3 separate regions of the Homo sapiens genome follow, and all the other regions are linked to region 3. Evidence: promoter capture Hi-C in 16 types of primary human blood cells and fetal thymus (Javierre and others, 2016). All regions are on one chromosome and are shown on one strand. The core of a region is centred on a gene start or on the middle of the fragment in contact, and the rest is flanking DNA. Distances in the headings are between cores, read along the strand shown.

Region 1 (4,062 bases), core at 532-3,031, 920 kb after region 3:
CTGCTGCGGGGCCCACAGGGAAGAAAGAGATAAAGACATTAGTCCCAGAGTGTGGCCTGGGCCCCCAGACCTCTCCTCCAGCCTCACCCGACGTACCTGCAGCCACTGGTGGACGGGTTGTCCTGCTCTGAGCTGGCACTCAGGAGGCTGTAGGCAATGGAACTGCTGGGTGGGGATGGGCTCTGAGAGTTTGTGCTAGGAGACAGCAACAGGCCCAGTTACAGGTAGGGCCAGCAGTGCGAGGCCTGTCACCCAGCTCTGCCTGCTCACAAGACCATTCCTAGACCCAACATACACATCCATACACACCTCTTGCTGCTCTCAGTGGTCTCCAGCAGGGCTGAGTCCTTGCCGTTGCCTGAGGAGGAGCTGTGTGAGCTCCGCTGAGATGCGCCTCTAGACTCATGCCCGTTGGACTCATTGCCACTTGAACCATTGCTGTTGGCATCGGTGTCATCGGCCAGGCTGGGGCCTGGGCAAGGCCGGTGCTGTGGGGGCCCAGGGGATGGGACGCCCCCAGGACAAAATGATTCCCCAGGCCTGGGGTCCCCTCCCCCATCAGCCCCTTCTAGGGGGCCACTCATGTCTGGGCCATGGGGAGAACAGAACAGAGAAGGCAGAGAGGCCACCACGGATGCACGAGGGGGCCTGGAGGCTTGGCTGAGGGAGTGAGGTGGAAGATCTAAGTCTCTGAGGGTTGAGAAGTTCGATCACAGCCAGTACCTGGAGAGGGAGACCAGGAAGCAGGGCTTGCAGAAAGCTGGTTTAACTCCAGAGCACCTGCTGGCTTCACTCAGACCTTCCCCCTGCCTGGCCTCCTGCAGGACTGATGGGAGTGGAACCCAGGCCTGGGGCTTCCAATGGGGAGTCAGGATGTCTCCTGTACCCTTAGGGGGACTGCCAGCGGGAGAAGGTTCTCCGGGGCCTTCCTTCACATCCCCTGCCACCATGGCCTGAGCAGTCAATGAGAACCACGGCTGTAGACAAAAACCTGGACACTTCCCATTCCCAAGTTCCCATTAGGTGTCCACTCTGCCTGGGCCTCCAAGGCCTCGGAGCAGGAGGTGAGCTGGTCGCCTCCTATATTTAGGCCTCCAGGCTAATTTTATCCGGGGGCGGTGCCACCCCCGCTGCACATGCGCGCCGACGTGCGCGGCCCCACCACGCGCTTCCGCCGCCGCCACGGTCGCCAGGGAAACCGACGTCAGCTGCTGAGCTCAGCGGTTGCTGGAGGGACCACAGGAGGGCGGGAGGAGCGACCCCTCCCCCATTTCCCGGCGGAAGTGGGGGAACGGCCCACTCTCACACTGGTGGGCGCGGCCGGGGGGGTCACGCATCCCTTACATATCCCCAGTCCCAGGATGGCTCGGTGGCCGTAAGAAGTGGGACGGCCTATTAGGATCCCAGGGTTGGTCCTGGCTTCCCCAGGACGAAGCACAACGGCCACTGCCCTCGGCGCAAAAGCCCCTCAACCTGACTCTCGCCTGGATCCCAGTCATTCTGGTCAAGACAACACAACCTTTCCTTCTTTAGCCCCTGCGCTGCTTCCCCACCACAAGGACCGAAGCCGGCAACCTGCCATCGTCAAGGACCCGAGGATCCTCTCTCTTCAGTCCCCTACTTTTCTGGCCAGACCCCCCCACCAACCCCAAGCCTTGGGCAGAAGACACACAACAGCCAACAGATCTTTCTTCCCCTACTCCCCGTCCAACCACACCCCTACTACTGAGCATTTTCTGAGCGCCAGGGGAAAAGGGAAGGTTGTGGCCAACAGCAGGAACCAGCGCTGGGAACGGGATGTTCTAGTCCGAAGTGGGCTGACATCACAGGCGGCGCAGGGCCAGGGACTGGAGAACAGAGACACGGGGAGCGCTGAAAGCCTAATAGGGTCCTGGTACCGGGGCAAACCTGGGGCCCCTCGAGTAACGAGCAAGAAGACCGGGGCATGCCCGCTGAGAGTCGGCTGTGGGGCCGGGAAAGCTGGGACGGGGAGGTGGGGACAAGCTGGAGGTAAGATGAGTGGGTCAGGAGTGCAGACTCCCGGTGCAAGATTTCGAGGAGGACTTCGGTCCTTGGGGGCAGGGAGAGGGTGGGTAGCGGTAAGGACGACAGTGTGCCCTCTGCCTGGGCCGAAAGTAGCCCATCAGATTGGAAGTGGCAGCGGTCCGGCTCAGGGACGGAGATCGGCCCCAGGATGGCCGCAGAGATGCCTACCTGGTCGCAGGAGTGTCCTCCGCACGCCTGCCCGCCGCCGCTCCAGCCCGCAGCCGAGTGGAAGCTCCACCGGGCGGGCGGGGAGGCGGGTTGCATAATGCCGGGCACTGCCCCCTCATTGGCCTCTTGCCGACGGAGCCGCAGGCCCCGCCCCCGATTGGCTGGGGATCTCTTCCCGGCGCCTGATTGGCTAGTGGTCTCCACTAAGGTCAGGGCTGTGTCACACACACGGGCGCACGTGGACCTGGGTGCTGGTGCTGGGCTGAAGAGCCCCAGACACCGCCCAGCCAATGGGCGCAGGACGCTTGCACATTGAATAATGGAAGGGAGGAGAGAGGGAGATACGCTGCGCCTCTTTAGGGAAAAAGCCCGGCCCGGGGTAGGTGCTCAAGACTTGTCTACTTCCTGAACGCACTAGCCTTGCAGAACACAACATCTTGGCATCTTCGCCTTTCCAAGGGTGAGGAAAAGGAATGGCGCTGCAAGTTAGGCCACGCTGGATGAGATGGGTGGTCCTTGAGAGGAGGGGAGAGACAGAAACCTGCCTGGGCCTCTCCTGGGTTCCTTTCCCAACCTTGTTCCCTCCCAACCTTCGTTCTACATAATGAAGCCCTTTAACCGAAGCACTTCCTCTGACACTTCAAATCCTGGGAGAGGACAGTTAAGGGTCCACGTGTGACCGGTGGGTGAGTGGGTGGAGGAAGGATGCGGACAATGGAAGGGGCAACCAGAGCCAATAGTGGCTGTGAAGGGAAACAATGGCAGGTGCTTCTATGGCCACTCAGAGACAAGGTCTCCGGGCAGCCTACGTGGTGTCTAGTACTTTCCTCCAGAGGACGCAGCCACCCACAGTTAAAGCTGCCCCAAAAGTGGGGGCCAGGAAGCCAGGACTACAGAGGGACCAAGGGGATGGCCCAGAGAAGAGGCCAGCTGGGGCCCTAGACAGAGAAATGTGGGGTGGCAAGGGCTTCATATTTCCACTGCTTGGAAAAGAGAAAGCCAAACTCCAGGGGCCCAGACGGAACGTCATCTGTCTCATTCACTGTAGTCTCCAGAGCCCAGGACAGGACCTGACACATGGCAAGTGATCGATAAACATGATTTTTTTTTTTTTAAACAAGGATAGGTTGGGGAGGTGGGAAAAGAGTGTCAACAGGAGAAAGGGGGCTGGGAATTCTGATTCTCTAAAAGAGATGAGTAGTCCTAGAAAGAGAACAGGGGCACGATTTGCAGGCAATAAAATGTTAGTCTGGGCTCAGGAGAGCTGCAGTTACACAGCCCCCTCCATCCAGGACCGTGATGAGTAGTTCCTCGCAGGGCTCCCTGGAAACGTGGGTAGTAGATGAACAGGCCTCCAAGCAGCTGCTGACATAATCATTGTGGGGGCACTCCCCTCACTGTCACGTGGCCTAAGCTTTCCTGAACAATGAGGGAAGGGTGAAGGGGAGGGCTCTGTGGAAAAGCTGAGACAAGATCGTGTTATAAATTAACCCAGAAAAATCGAAACAGGAAAACAAAAGATTCAGGAGCCTGGAGGCCGGGCGCGGTGGCCTGTAATCCCAGCACTTTGGGAGGCCCAGGCAGGCGGATCACCTGAGGTAGCGAGTTCGAGACCAGCCTGACCAACATGGAGAAACCCCGTCTCTATTAAAAAAAAAAAAAAAGATTCAGGAGCTTGGATTCTCAGTCTCCTCTCCCTGAAAATGATCCTCTCCACCCCAACTCATACTGTGGCTTTGGCCTTATCTCGTTTGCAGATACCTCTTCCCTGGAAACATGGTTTTTCTCCCCCTTCAGGGATTTAGGTGTGATCTCCCCTAACCCAGGCAGTCCTTGATCTCCCGCCTC
Region 2 (3,894 bases), core at 1,395-3,894, 600 kb after region 3:
CTGGGGTAAATAGTGGGGAGGGGGGCACGCGGGGTGGTTGCTAAGCGACGTAGATTCGCTTCCTGTTTGCTGCAGCTTATGTTGTGACACTGGTGGGGGTTAGAGACAGCGGAGGGCCTGAAGACTGTGGGGAAGGCCGAGGGCAGGACGCCTGGTTCCCGGGACAGGAAGAGCCCTGGGAGGAAGGCGGGGAGGTAGCGAGCTGCGCCGCGACCGAAGGGGACTCGGTGGTTGTCCGGAGGGGGTTAGGGACCGAGGCGCAGCGTTGACCTCGGCTCCCCTTCCCTCCCCTGGGTTGCTTGTCCTGTTGCCAGAGTAACTGGAGGGCGAGACTTGGGAGCCGGATTCCCGAACTCTCCCGTCCGCCCAATCCGCTCCAGCGGTCGGCCCTGACGTCAGGGCCCTGGCAGCCAATGGGGAAGGGGGATGATAGCGACAGGAAAGGGAGAGGGGAGGGGCAGCGGCGGAGGCTGGGAGGCAGCAGCTGCCTGGGACCCGCACGTGCACTCCCACACGCTCGCGCCCACCCCCCGCCCTGCGCCGCACGCGCCCGAGCACCCCCTTGCGCCTGCGCGGCGAGCCGGGCGCCCCCCTCCCCTCGTGGAGTCTGTGTAAAGCCGCCTGAGGCTGCGCTCTTCAGCCCCTGGGGACCCACACGTCTCGGTCGGTCTGCACCGTTTCGCCGGTCGCGACCATAATGCCCAGCCTGGCTCGGGAGGGCCGACTACCTGTTCCCCACCTCCCCCCAGCTGGCGCCCCACACTCCCAGGTGGGCTGGGCGGAGCTGTGGTTTCCGGCCCCATCTGCTCGGCCGCTGCCTTCCCGGGCTCTGGCTTAAGTTGCTTTCCCAAGAGAAAGCGAGCGGGTACCAGCGCCCCTTCCCAAGGCTTCTCCCGCCCGGGCCCAGCTGCTGTTGGTGGCGGAGGAGGGCACTGCGGGGAAGCCCCGGACGGCCCAGGTGATTCTTCTGGGCCATCACGCCCCTTCTTCGCGTGAATTCCTGCTCTTTGATGTGCACCAAAACCCTTCCCATTCCTAACGTTTCCTCCTCGTTCGCCCCGGCGTTCTTTGCACCTCCCTCGGCTCCTTTCGGGCTGTCTGTCCCTGTCTCCACTCGTCCTTCTTCGCTTCTCCCGGTTATATAACTCTTCCTCTCGCCGTGTCCTGGTTTCAACTCCACAGACTCCGCCCTGGAACAGCGCGGGGAGGGGCGGGAGAGTTGGGGACCCAGACAGATTCCGGCTGGCGGCCGGCTGGGGCACGGGGGATCCTGCAGATGGAAGACGGAGCCCCGCGGGACCCGGTGCCCCCGTCCCCGCCTGCCGGCCCCCACCGAGATCTCGCCCAGGAGAGAGAAGGCACAGTATCTCCGAGGGGCGTGTCGGGCCGACTCCCGTCAGAAATGTGGGTTGGGAGGTCAGGGCTGCAGGCGGAGAGGAGGAGACAGGCAAGAGGCCTGAGTCCCTGGGATTGGAGTCGTATTAGGGGTAAAAGAGATAAGGACGCCTGGGTTTCTTCTTATGTCTCCTTTTTGGGTTCCCAGAATTCCTAAGGGTGTTTCCAGTGTTTCCAGGAAGCTTAGCCAGCACACCCACTCCGCCCCGTAGGGGTCAAAGGTCTGTGTTAGAGGTGGCCTGGGATGATGTCACTAGTGCACGTGCCCCGGGATGGTTGCCAGGCAATGAGGCTTCCTCCCCCTTCTATTCCCTCCCACCTCTGCCCCGAGTCCAGTTCCAGTCCCGTGCCATCTCTTTCCCCTCTCCCTTCCCGTGGTCTTAGCATCCTGCAGGTGGGAAACCCCGGCCTGGAGTTTTGTGAGGGGGAGGGGCACGGGTGTGGTGTGGCTGAAAGACTTTGCCCCTTTGCTGGGCTGAGGGAGCCTTGGGTCACTTTTCCCTAGATTGGCACAGAAGAGCTTCCCCTCCAAGGCTCCGCCCCCATAGAAAAAGCTACCTAGCCGTCATTTTACTTTCCCACCTGCTGCATGGCCAAGTGTCCTATTGCCCCCTTCCCCAGATTGATTTGAAGTGGGAGTGGTTGAAAGACGGAAGAGTTGTGTGTAGTATGGGGGGGGGTTCACTACACACCAGCTTATCCCTGAAATCCCCATAATGGCACACCCCCATCTGCAAACAATGAAAGGAAAAGGGTCAAGAAACAGTATTAGGCTGAAAAGTCAGGGTCTTTATTGTGTGTATGCGGGTGAATCGGTTTGTAGCCTCTCACTTGGTGGAGGGGGACTCAGTTGATTGCTATGGTTGTTCTTCTCTATTAAGTCCCAGGGTTGGTGATGGTATTGGAATGAATCGGTTTGTGCTTTTATGTACCTTAGAGCTTGGGCTGTCAGATCAGACCTGGATTCTAATTCTAGCTCTGTCACTTAGTGGCTACTAGGACTTGGAGAGGTCAGAACCTCTCTGAGCCTCGTATGTTAATCTTGAACATTTAAATATCAACACCTACCTTGAAGGCCGCTGGGAGGAAAAAAATGAGATAATTTATGCAAATCACTTAGCACAGTGCCTGGCACAGAATGAACACAGAATGAGTGCTTGTTGTTATGAAATACTTTTATTATTAAATGGTGTTAGTTACTAGTTTATTATTATTGCTGTGGGTCTGCTCCAAACCAGCGGTAACCGTAGGAGTTTGTTAAGGGGTAGTGGATAGTTTGTGTTAATTTGGAGATTGGGGTTAGGGGGCTGGGGATTAGCTTCAACTGCTTTGTGCATTTTATTTGATGAAGGCTTTAGGCAGATTTGTATTGCTTTCTTTAGGATTATTTTTTTTTCTCTTGGACAAGAAATAGCTAAGACTATTCCGTGGGCCTTGAAAATAAAATAATTGTATTATGGTTCTTGATTTTGAAGCAAGACCCCAGCCCCCTCCCGTGTTGATCTCTGGAGCCTTTCGTTTTGCAGAGGGACTCCACAGTTTCTCTAGTGGGGACAGGGCTAGGCTGAGGGGTGTGTAAAAGGTTGGGGTGGGTGGGTGGAGAGAGACTAGTGCTGGGGGCTGGGGGGGCGGGTAGTTAAAGGAAGAGACCGGAAGGGAGGAGGAGGGAGCCTGCTGGTGGGGAGGGAGGGAGGGGAGGAGGAGGTGGAGGAGGAGGAGGAGGAGGAGGGAGGGGGTTGGGGAGAGCCTGCTACAGTTCTTTGTTTGACTCCGGGACTCAGGGACGGGGAGGAGGAGGGAGGGAATAGAAGGGGGAGGAAGCCCCCCCCCCCACACACACACAAACACACACACCCCAGCTGTTGGACAGATGAATTACAGCCTCCGGCTTGGGGCCAGGGCTGGTGAGGGATTAAAGCTCTGGGGCTGGCCCTTTAAATGGCTGTTAGCCCCTCCCCCACTCTGTTGTCCAGACACCCCTCACACACCCTCTGACCCCCTAGGCTTCCCCCTCACTCCTCCTCTTGGTCTGTCCTAAAGTCTGCCCACTCTGCTCTCGACTAGCCCTTTCCTAGTCCCTCCCCCCAGCACAACCGCAGAACACAGATGCCACAGACTATAGATACACACTCTCTGCTCCCAGGTTATGAGCCTCCCTGTCCTGGAGAGTTCTAGCCTGAAGCTCCCTTCCCGAGCAGAAGGGCCTTGCCTGCCTGACCTCTACCACCTACAGCTGACCACTACCCTGGCTTAGGAAGGAGGCCTTGGTGGGTCACAAATAGCACCTCCCTGGGGGCAGTGTCATCAGCAGCCACAGAAGCTTGCGGAACATTGCATCATGGAGACTGGGGGCTAGAGGCCTGAGTCTCTGAGGCAAGGGGAAGGATGGGGGCCGGAAGGCTAGGGAATATAGAGATTAGATTGGGACCCCAAGTGTTTGGGTCCATAAGGGCAGAGAACTATGATTAAGGGAGCAGAAAACATAGGTCCCTGAGGAGC
Region 3 (4,234 bases), core at 1,098-3,597:
AGCATTAACAAATACTGTCGACTAAATGAATAAACGTATAAAGCATCAGACTCTCTACCCTAGTTGTTCCTCTCTCTCTTTCCACACACAACCTTAGCCCCAAATTAGGACACCTTGTCTAATTAACCCGTTAGCCTAATATGGTCATGGGAGCCAGGATATATATCAACATAATCCATTTGCTGTCAACGTGACAACACAGCCCAGTCACTACTAACCCGTCTCAGCATAATGTAGGATTCTTCCCAACATAACACAATCTCAGCACAGCTTGGTCCACTCTGAGGCAAATTATTCTGTATCACCATAACCTACTTTACAGAGTGGTCAGCCTCAATGCTAATTACAATTACCATTCACCAAGAATTTCCCGTGTGCCACACACGTGAACTAACCATTTCATTCTGTGATTTTCTCCATGTCACAGATGAGATCAAGACACAAAATTTAAATAAATTGTCCAAGATTACATTGCTGACAACTAGAAAAACCTTGCCTTAAAGCCAAGATAACTCCCAAGATAGTATCAGCATCCCCATGTCAAACAATCTTTCTAGCTAGAGTCCAGTTTGTTCAGTTCTTCTAAAACCCATGCTATCCCAACTTAATCCAGCCTGCCTTCAAAAAAGCAGAGGTTGGGCCGGGCGCGGTGGCTCACGCCTGTAATCCCAGCACTTTGGGAGGCTGAGGCGGGCGAATCACGAGGTCAGAAGTCAGAGACCAGTCTGGCTAAAACGGTGAAACCCCGTCTCTACTAAAAAATACAAAAAATTAGCCGGGTGTGGTGGCGGACGCCTGTAGTCCCAGCTACTTGGGAGGCTGAGGCAGGAGAATGGCGTGGACCCGGGAGGCAGAGCTTGCAGTGAGCTGAGAATGCGCCACTGCACTCCAGCCTGGGCGACAGAGCGAGACTGTCTCAAAAAAAAAAAAAAAAAAAAGCAGAGGTTGAGGACCCAGAAGGCTCAGCCCCAAAGACCATAAACACAAAAGGGCTTTCTCTGCATTATTTACACGCCAATCTAGTCCAAGATAGCCCTGAATGTCCCAAATTACCCTAGGATAGCCCAATCTATTCTAGCACAGCCTACAATGCCCCCACACGCAGCTGTCTGCACCAGTCTAGATTGGAACATCCCAATACGGCTGCCTGTGCTAGCACAGGCCCCAACAGCCTTGTCTGCCCCTATACCGAGTGCTCCAATAAAACCAAGTCTTGCCCCAAGAGAAACCAGGATTAACCAATACAACCCAGTAGAGTCCATAATGGCCCAAGTGTTTTTTGTTTTTTTTCTGAGACGGAGTCTCGCACTGTCGCCCAGGCTGGAGTGCAGTGGCGCGATCTCGGCTCACTGCAACCTCCGCCTCCCAGGTTCAAGAGATTCTCCCTGCTTCAGCCACCCAAGTAGCTGGGACTACAGGCGCGTGCCCCCACGCCCGGCTAATTTTTTGTATTTTTAGTTAGTAGAGATGGGGTTTCACCGTGTTAGCCAGGATGGCCTCGATCTCCTGACCTCGTGATCCGCCCGCCTCAGCCTCCCAAAGTGCTGGGATTACAGGCGTTACAGGACTCCTGAGAACGTACTAAACAACCAGACAATGGATCAATTTACTCAGTACAGACTAGAATACTCCAACATAAACCAGTATGCCCCCACCTATTCCAGTAAAGCCTAATCTTGTCTAATCTGGTTTAGGATATCCTAGTCTGTCCGTGTGCCTCAATCTATCCAAGCATAACCTTGTCCATCCTGGGATAGTCAACCTACCTCAGCATAGTACAATCTGCTCCACCATAGGCCAGAAAATCCCAGTGTGGCCCAAAGTAGACGTGTGCCCCTCCATGTCGCCCAATCCACTCTAGCAAAGCCCCCGCCGGTCCTATCTAGGCCTTGCGCTCACCCGAAATCCTGATCCATAGACTTGAAAAAGTACTTGGCGCCCGCGGGCCGCTGCAGGACGCTCTTGAAATCGCCGAGGGTGATGCGCTCGGCGGGGACAGGGATCTTCACCAGGTAGGGAGTCTCTTCCTCATCCAGGTGGTAAATCACCTTCGTCTCCCCAACCCCACCGCCCCCAGTGCTGCTACCCGCCATGGTCTCGCCCGCGCGCTCCCGGGCTCCACCGCCCACCCAAAGGGCTAATGGCCCCTGCCGCGCCTGCGCACACCCGCAAACCGACGCGCGAGCGCGGACAGGACTGACCCAGTACGGGAGAGAAGCAAAGGGGAAAAAGCACGGATCTGCGAGGGTGGCGGCGGGGGGCGGGCCGCGGGGTGCGACTCAAAGCCCCGGTCTCAGCGGCCGCCGCGCGCCACCGCCACCGACGCCGCGAGCTTCCTCCAGGTACCCGCCCACCTCTCCTCATGTCACGTGACTTAAAGGCAGCCACCCCGCGCTCCTCAGCCGCCCTCCGTCACGTGATCCCCTCCCAATCACGTGACCGTCTGACTCCGCCTAGTGCCCCCGCCACATGATCGCTGCCTTCAGCAACGGTCTCCCAGCCCCCAAACGTGTACCCCAGCCGAGGTCCTCTGAGCACCCAGGCTAAGCTGGCCTGTGCCTTCAGGAAACGGACCATCGGCTCCCACCCCGCTTTACCCCACCCACGATGGAGCACGAAGCAACTCTGACCCGCAGGAGTGTGCGTGCAGGGAGTGAAGGTGGGGACTGTGGGGGTTCCTAGACTCGAGTGGGGAGGGCCAAATACAATGAAAGCTCTAAGGTGGCTTACTTGTCTTGGGGTGGGAAAGGCCCAGTGCTGTGATATCTTCAGATTGGACTTTGAGACGTGGGTTTCAGCCCCACCTCCAGCTAGTCTTCAGCCACCAAAGCCTCCCTCCCGAGCAGGACAGTGAGGGCTATAAACACAAAAGAGCCCACTCTGCTTTATTTACAACACGCAGGCTGTCTGTACAAACAGCGGCCGATATTATTAAAAACAAAAGAGGTGAGTGAGAATCGTCACCTTTCTGCTTTCCTTCCTCACTTGGCCAGGCTCTAGTACTCCACCTTTGAGCTGCCATGCCCAATAGGGGAAGTCCAAAATTAAAAATACAACCGGTGTAGAAGAAAATAAATGGGGAGTGAAATAGAAGAAAAGATGAGGGAGGGGAGTGCTAATATTTACACTAGAGTTTTATAGACAACTGTCCCATTCCATCCCAATTCCAATCCTGACCCAGAAAGTGATGGTGGCAGGTCCAAGAGACAGAGATTATGTGTCGGGACACAGACAGCCTCCCATCCCCAACCGTAATGGATTCAATTTCAAGTCCACAGAGTGGGGAGGAAGGATAGGGTGGGAAAGTGAGACACTCATTTTCAAACAAGTCTCCCTTGAGAATTCCTGCCTTGAAGTGCAGACAGTATCCAAGCTCCAGGGGATAGGCTGAGGACCCTGAGGCTCAGTTCCCAAATCATGTTGTCATTTGGAAGTTCCAGGCTAAAGTTGGTGCCATCAGGGCTCTCCAGATTTGGGAGGCCCCCCTAACCGCCGGGCCTCTGGCCTCAGTTCCTTGCATTTCTGGCAATAAAAGAAGTCGGGGACGTTGGTCTTCTTAATCTTAGCACAGGAGAGGTGGATCCACGTCCCACACAGGCTGCACTCAATCATGGGCCGCCCTGCAAAGGGCTTTCGACAGTAACATGTGATCAGATCCCATGAGTCATCACCTGGGGAAAAAAAGGTTTGTTTGGTATTCTGCCTGAGCTGTTGGATCCACAACACCCTCAAACCCCTCGCCCCAGCCCGAACCTCTCACCTGATTCTACCATGATGTCCTCGTCCATGACCCGCATCTCGCCTTCACTGGAGCTGGCATCTCCATCTTGGCTTGTTTCAGTGCTGCCCACCTCCTTGCTTTCACTGTCAGCAGGAGGGACTCCTTCAGGGTGCACTGTGGCAGGGGGCCTAGGAGCCTCAGGGGGTGTTGGCAGCACAGGGACTGGGGCTTCACCCCCTACCACTGTTGCCATCTCTTCTTCTTCTTCCTCTTCCTCCTCTTCCTCCTCCTCTTCAGAGTCTGTATCACTGGGGGGTGCCTGGGGAGGCCCAGGAGGTGGGAGTCTATCCCCCCGTTCTGCCTTTTTTAACTTCCGCTTCTTGCTCTTCTTGATTCGAGATCTCTTTTCCCCATCCCCAGGAGTTGGCCGAGGCCTCCGAAGCACCCCAAAGCCAGCCCCAGCTCCTGGCCCCAACTTTCGGTTCTTTCGGTCCTTCTTTCGAGGAGGATGGG

Evidence for each region. Contacts are between HindIII fragments. The CHiCAGO score rates a contact against its expected background, and 5 or more counts as called.
Region 1: a contact is called between a fragment that was not itself captured here and the fragment with the promoter of DVL2 in region 3, in 1 of 17 cell types (activated CD4 T cells). The highest score is 5.4, in activated CD4 T cells.
Region 2: a contact is called between a fragment that was not itself captured here and the fragment with the promoter of DVL2 in region 3, in 3 of 17 cell types (M0 macrophages, erythroblasts and naive CD8 T cells). The highest score is 7.2, in M0 macrophages.

The regions. Positions count from the first base shown.
Region 1 is chr17:8,150,123-8,154,184 of GRCh38, forward strand. It overlaps PER1 (period circadian regulator 1), which reads right to left and starts at 2,282. Exons shown (of 23, transcript NM_002616.3): 1 at 2,215-2,282; 2 at 310-723; 3 at 97-195; 4 at 1-3. The coding sequence starts at 584. RefSeq lists enhancers at 1-436, 906-1,015, 2,229-2,523 and a silencer at 1,176-1,275. The HindIII fragment of the contact is 3,689 bases long and covers 1-3,626 here.
Region 2 is chr17:7,835,222-7,839,115 of GRCh38, forward strand. All of the region lies in intron 1 of KDM6B (lysine demethylase 6B), which reads left to right. LOC124904106 (translation initiation factor IF-2) reads right to left here. Exons shown (of 4, transcript XM_047437265.1): 4 at 187-1,423. The coding sequence ends at 396. Among named protein-coding and RNA genes, the nearest start is that of KDM6B, 3.0 kb to the left of the region's middle. RefSeq lists silencers at 378-797, 818-877, 2,418-2,567 and an enhancer at 1,498-1,547. The HindIII fragment of the contact is 2,138 bases long and covers 1,576-3,713 here.
Region 3 is chr17:7,232,170-7,236,403 of GRCh38, forward strand. It overlaps DVL2 (dishevelled segment polarity protein 2), which reads right to left and starts at 2,348. Exons shown (of 15, transcript NM_004422.3): 1 at 1,900-2,348. The coding sequence starts at 2,093. PHF23 (PHD finger protein 23) reads right to left here. Exons shown (of 5, transcript NM_024297.3): 4 at 3,761-4,234; 5 at 2,869-3,671. The coding sequence ends at 3,457. RefSeq lists a silencer at 2,086-2,385 and an enhancer at 2,496-2,545. The HindIII fragment of the contact is 14,867 bases long and covers 1-4,234 here.